Linked DNA regions of Homo sapiens: region 2 is linked to region 1. Evidence: promoter capture Hi-C in 16 types of primary human blood cells and fetal thymus (Javierre and others, 2016). All regions are on one chromosome and are shown on one strand. The core of a region is centred on a gene start or on the middle of the fragment in contact, and the rest is flanking DNA. Distances in the headings are between cores, read along the strand shown.

Region 1 (2,700 bases), core at 186-2,685:
CTGCCAATTTGGTAGCCTCTGAACCCAGCATACAGTATCAATCTCCTAGCAAAGAACTTCCTTCTGAAACCTGTTTTCCAATCCCTCCAACAGAAGAAACAAAGATTATAAAGCTGATCTTCCAAAACGGTGGTCTCGGGGCAACCTACATCACAAGCCCCTGGTGCAGAAACCTGGATCCCAGCAAAAAAGCTCAATCTACTATAATCAATTTCGAGTGGGGACTAGGAATCTGCATTTTTAACCAGCTGCCCTGGCAATTCTGACACACACTAACTTTGGGAAGGGAGCAGCTCCGTTAAAAACCACTGTTGCCCAGCAAGTTAAGTCACAATCATTTTCCCCCTAAGCTGGAATTAGAACTCTCAGGATCACCTAGGGGAGGTTGTAAGCATTCTCTGATAGACCATTCGGATTCTTACACTGGTTGACCCAGTTCACACACAGCCACCAGCCTCACGTGCAGGATGGCTTCGATAGAACCACCCTCTGGGGGCGGCCTGCCGATTCTACTTTTAAGCACACATATTCTTCGCTCGAAAAGAGGGCGGGGGAGGAGGCTACAATCAAACTTTCCTGGCCCATTCTCTTCGAAGATTCCTTCCTATTCTGGCTAAGAATCAAGCCCCGCTCCTGCAGAAGGGGCAAGGAAAGCGGCCGATTCCTGGGTCGACGAGAATCTCCCAAGAACTGTCTCGACAGGAGAAGCAGGGGCACCCATGACCTACAACCCGCGAGGCCTGGAGGTAGCAAAAGGCCGCCTTCGTCATTTCTCTCCCAGCTTGGATGGGAGTGAGGGGTTGAGAAAATGCAGGATGAGAAATCCAAATATAACTAACTTCTGGCCAACTCTCTGCCTGTATGACTCTAGGTACCTTGGAGCCAGTGCCAGGCCCTGAGCTCAGAGCGGGCCCCCGAAGAAGCTGCAGAGAGAAACTTCGCTCCAGAGACGCGGCCCCAGGGTCGAAAGGGGCTCGGGGCCCGCAGCCCCCGGCCGGCTGCGCCCAGCACAGCAGGCCCTGGATCCCGCGGCTCGGCAGGGGGACTCTCACCTCGGCCCACCCGGCCTTCCAAAGGGTCCTTGCGGAAGTGGATCCCGTGCACGTCCACATGCGCCTCTCCACCCGCGTTGACCGCCCAAATGACGCTCTCGGGCAGCCCGGCCCCCGCCGCGCCGGCCACGCCGGCCACGCCGAGCCCGGGTCCCCGGATCGCCGGCGGCAGCAGCAGCAGCAGCAGTCGCAGGAGCGCCACAGCGGTTCCCTCAACCGCCCAGGCTCCCAGCATGGCGGCCACCACCACGGGGGCAGCCCCCGCCGACCCTCGTCCTCGGCCGGCTGCCAGGCCACCCCGGACTCAGAAAAACAGCGCCACGGGCCGCTCCGCCTGAGCCGCCGGGGACATGTCGCTCTCAGGCCTCCTTCTTCTCAGCCACGGGTACCGCCTCCCACCTCAGGAACAACCTACCCCGCCGCCCTGCCCCCGGCCACGACGCTGCAGCCAATCAGCGCCCGGCCCTCATTAATTACCCACCACCCCGCCGGGAGGCGCCCGCTCATTGGCTGTCAGGCGCGGGAAAGGGCGTGGCTTCTCCCAGGCGCCGGCCCAGCAGTCGGGCACCAGATGGAGCGCGCGCAGAGGGAGTGAGTTCGGTTGAAGCGGCGGTTCGATGCGGAAGTGGCGGGTGCAGCGCCCAGGCGGCCCCGGAATCCCACAGCTGAATGGGAAAGGTGGCCTGGGGGGGGAAGGTTTAGGGTAGGGCGCACTGACATGTCGCCAGCACTTCCGGTGCTCTAGCTCCTGAGACCAAATAGGCTCTGGAGGGGGCGTGGCCGACTTTCCCGCCCCCTCTTCTTTTCTCAGGGAGCAGCATGAGCATAAATTCTAGTAGGAGAAGCAATGGACACTCTCCAGACCTAAGAGACGCAGTCCTTTTCCCCGCGTGAGGGAGAGGACCCATGCTTTCCCAGAGAGGCCGCGGACACAGGTCTCCAGGGAACGAATCCCATGAGAATAAGGCCCCGCCCCCTCCCCTTAGCGGGCTCGGGGCGGGTGGTAGCGTCCAGACGGCCGTCCAATGAGAAGGCTCCAACGCAGCGGAAACGCGTGGCTTTGAGAGCGAGTGGGTGCCAGGCTGCTCGCGTCTCCATGGCGACGGCCTCTGGCCGGCCTCCGCTGCGTAGGGGCGGGACCGAGGCACCCTAGGCGCTGGCGGGAGTCGCCGCCGGCGGTGCCCAGAGTGGATACCGGGGTTGTCCCGCACGGGCACGGCCCGAACTCCCTCCCTGCTCCTTCACAGTTCACCTGGCGCTCTCCCACACTGGCGATCCCTGCGCTTCGGTCGCTGTTCAAACTCCCATTTTTCCGATGGGGAAACTGAGGCATAGAAAGGGACTGAATTTTGCCAAAGGGTCGCACCGCAAGTGTAGGGCAGAGTCAAGGCAAAAACAAAAAAAACAAAAAAACGCTTATGCATTTTCCATAAATACTGGTCGATTTAGAAATTCTCCCTAAAAGGAAAAAAATGTATCAAGTCCCTGCTACCAGGGTTGTCAGATTTGGCAGATAAAATAGGAGAAGCCCAGTTATATTTGAATTTCAGATAAGCAAATGGGACCCACTTATACTAAAAAAAAAAATGCATTGTTTATTAAAATTTAAACAACTGGACTTCTTGTATTTTATCTACCAATCCTACCT
Region 2 (2,700 bases), core at 130-2,629, 530 kb before region 1:
TCACTGCAACCTCCGCCTCCCAGGCTACAGCAATCCTCCCACCTCAGCCTCCCAAGTAGCTGGGTCCACAGGTGTGCGCCACTATGCCAAGCTAATTTTTCGTATTTTTGGTAGAGATGGGGTTTCACTACGTTGCCCAGGCTGGTCTCAAAATTCCTAAGCTCAAGGGATCCACTTGCCTCAGCCTCCCAAAGTATTGGGATTACAGGCGTGAGCTACCACAGGGCAAGACCCTGTAATTTAAAAGTTTCTAGTAGCCATGTCAAAAAGTAAAAAGAAATAGAAAGGGCTGGGCACGGTGGCTCATGCCTGTAATCCCAGCACTTTGGGAGGCCGAGGCAGACAGATTGCTAGAGCTCAGGAGTTCGAGACCAGCCTGGGCAACATGGAAACCTCATGATTGTAGAGATGAGATTTCTCATCTGTACAAACAAACAAACAAAAACACAATAATTAGCCAGTCATGGTGGTGTGCACCTGTAGTCCCATAATTCCAGAGGCTGAGATGGTAGAATCACTTGAGCCTGGGAGGCAGAGGTTGCAGTGCATTGCACTCCAGTCTGGGTGACAAAGCAAGGCGCCGTTTAAAAAGAAAAAAAGAAAAAAGAGACAGGAAAAATTAATTGTAATGATATATTCTGTGTAACCCAATATATCCAAAATATTTTAACATGTCATCAATAAAAAATGTTTTCATGTGATAGTGGTACTCTTTGTTTTTTTGAGACAGTGTCTTGCTCTGTTGCCCAGGCTGGAGGGTGGTGTGATCACAGCTCTCTGTGGCCTCAACCTCCCAGGTTCAAGCAGTCCTTCTGCCTCAACCTCCCAAATAGGTAGGCCTATAGGCGTGTGCCACCATGCCAGGCTAATTTTTGTATTTTTTTGTAGAGGCAAGGTCTCGCTATGTTGCCCAGGTTTGTCTCAAACTCTTGAGCTCAAGCGATCTTCCCACCTCAGCCTCCCAAAGTACTGTGATTTCAGGCATGAGCCACTGTGCCCAGCCTCTTTTTCTGTACTATGTCTTTGAAATCCAGTGTGTATTTTAAGGTTATAGCACATCTCAGTGTAGAGTAGGAACGGTTAAGTGTTCAACAGGTGCAAGTTACTAGTGGCTACCATACAGTGCAACACCACTATGGATATTTTCCGCAGTTGTAATTTTACAGGTACCCTAAGGTAGATGTGCACTGATCCTCCCACTAGCAGCAAACGCCAAAAGCAAAAAGCTGCAGGGGAGCTCCTGCCCCCAAATGCTTCAGGTCCAACCAGGGATGTGAGTTCAGTTAACTGGCTAGCAGTGAGTCTCCAAAAAAAAAAAAAAAATATATATATATATATATATATATATATATATATTTGAGATGGAGTTTTGCTCTTGTTGCCCAGGCTGGAGTGCAGTGGCGCAATCTGGGCTCACTGCAACCTCCGCCTCCTGGATTCAAACGATTCTCCTGCCTCAGCCTCCCATGTAGCCGGGATTACAGGCATTAGCCACTAGGCCTGGCTAATTTTTTGTACTTTTAGTAGAGACGGGGTTTTACCATGTTGGCCAGGCTGGTCTCGAACTCCTGACCTCAGGTGATCCACCCGCCTCGGCCTCCCAAAGTGCTGAGATTATAGGCATGAGCCACCGTGTTCAGAAAAAAAAAAAAAAAAAATTCTTTTTTTTGCACTGCTCCATCAGTACAATTTACCATTTTAAACTTTATTTTTCTCTTAGAGATGGGGTCTCGCTATGTTGTCCAGGCTGGTCTTGTGTCCAGGCTGGTCTTGAGCTCCTGGCCTCAAGCAATCCTCCCACCTTGGCTTCCCAAAGCACTGGGACTACAGGTGTGAGCCAATGAGTCCAAATCTGGGTGTGGGCCAGGTGGTTCTGATGTTGAGTCTGCACCTGGAAAGCCATCCTCTTGAATACTGTCTGTATCTACTGCTGCTGCTGACAGATATTGGAAGCCAAACCTGCTTGGGCTTCCCTTGGGCAGTGTTAAGATTCCAAACCTCACCCCAAAGACGGGGGGATCTGTTACTTTTAAACAATTCCTCAGATGAGTCTTCCATGATCAGGTAAACTTGGGAAACACAGTTCATTGGTTCCGAAACGTTGCTGAACATGAGAATCACCTGGGCAGCCGATCATACTCTGCAGCAATTAAATCAGAAGGTCTGGGGATGCGTCTGGGCGCGGTGGCTCACGCCTGTAATCCCAGCACTCTGGGAGGCTGCGGCGGGTGGATCACCTGAGGCCAGGAGTTCGAGACCAGCCTGGCCAACATGGCGAAACCCTGTCCCTACTAAAAATACAAAAATTAGCCGGGCATGGTGGTGGGTGCCTGTAATCCCAGCTACTCAGGAGGCTGAGGCAGGAGAATCGCTTGAACCAGGGAGGTGGAGGTTGCAGCGAGCCAAGATTGCACCACTGCACTCCAGCCTGGGCGACAGAGGGAGACTCCATCAAAAAAATAAAAAAGGGTCTGGGGATGGGAGCCAAAGATTTCCAGATGGTTCCAATGTGCAGTTTGGAGACCACTGCACTAGGCAATACGTGTCAGCCCAGCAGCTGTAGACACCAGAACACCCCAGGTAAGCCTTTAAAGTGGCCCCAGGTGGCAAGGTAATTATCATCTTCTCTCTCGCGTTGTATTCAATTGTAACAGGTGCCAGCCCCGCGTGGGGGCTCACGCCTGTAATCCCAGCATTTTG

What was found. Contacts are between HindIII fragments. The CHiCAGO score rates a contact against its expected background, and 5 or more counts as called.
Region 2: a contact is called between a fragment that was not itself captured here and the fragment with the promoter of MLEC in region 1, in 1 of 17 cell types (naive B cells). The highest score is 5.0, in naive B cells.

The regions. Positions count from the first base shown.
Region 1 is chr12:120,685,884-120,688,583 of GRCh38, reverse strand. It overlaps MLEC (malectin), which reads right to left and starts at 1,435. Exons shown (of 5, transcript NM_014730.4): 1 at 1,053-1,435. The coding sequence starts at 1,287. It overlaps LOC105370029 (a long non-coding RNA gene), which reads left to right and starts at 1,435. Exons shown (of 3, transcript XR_945449.3): 1 at 1,435-1,730. RefSeq lists silencers at 1,077-1,376, 2,217-2,316 and enhancers at 1,131-1,632, 1,727-1,856, 1,947-2,056. The HindIII fragment of the contact is 12,504 bases long and covers 1-2,700 here.
Region 2 is chr12:121,211,448-121,214,147 of GRCh38, reverse strand. All of the region lies in intron 1 of P2RX4 (purinergic receptor P2X 4), which reads right to left. Among named protein-coding and RNA genes, the nearest start is that of P2RX4, 2.7 kb to the right of the region's middle. The HindIII fragment of the contact is 3,683 bases long and covers 1-2,700 here.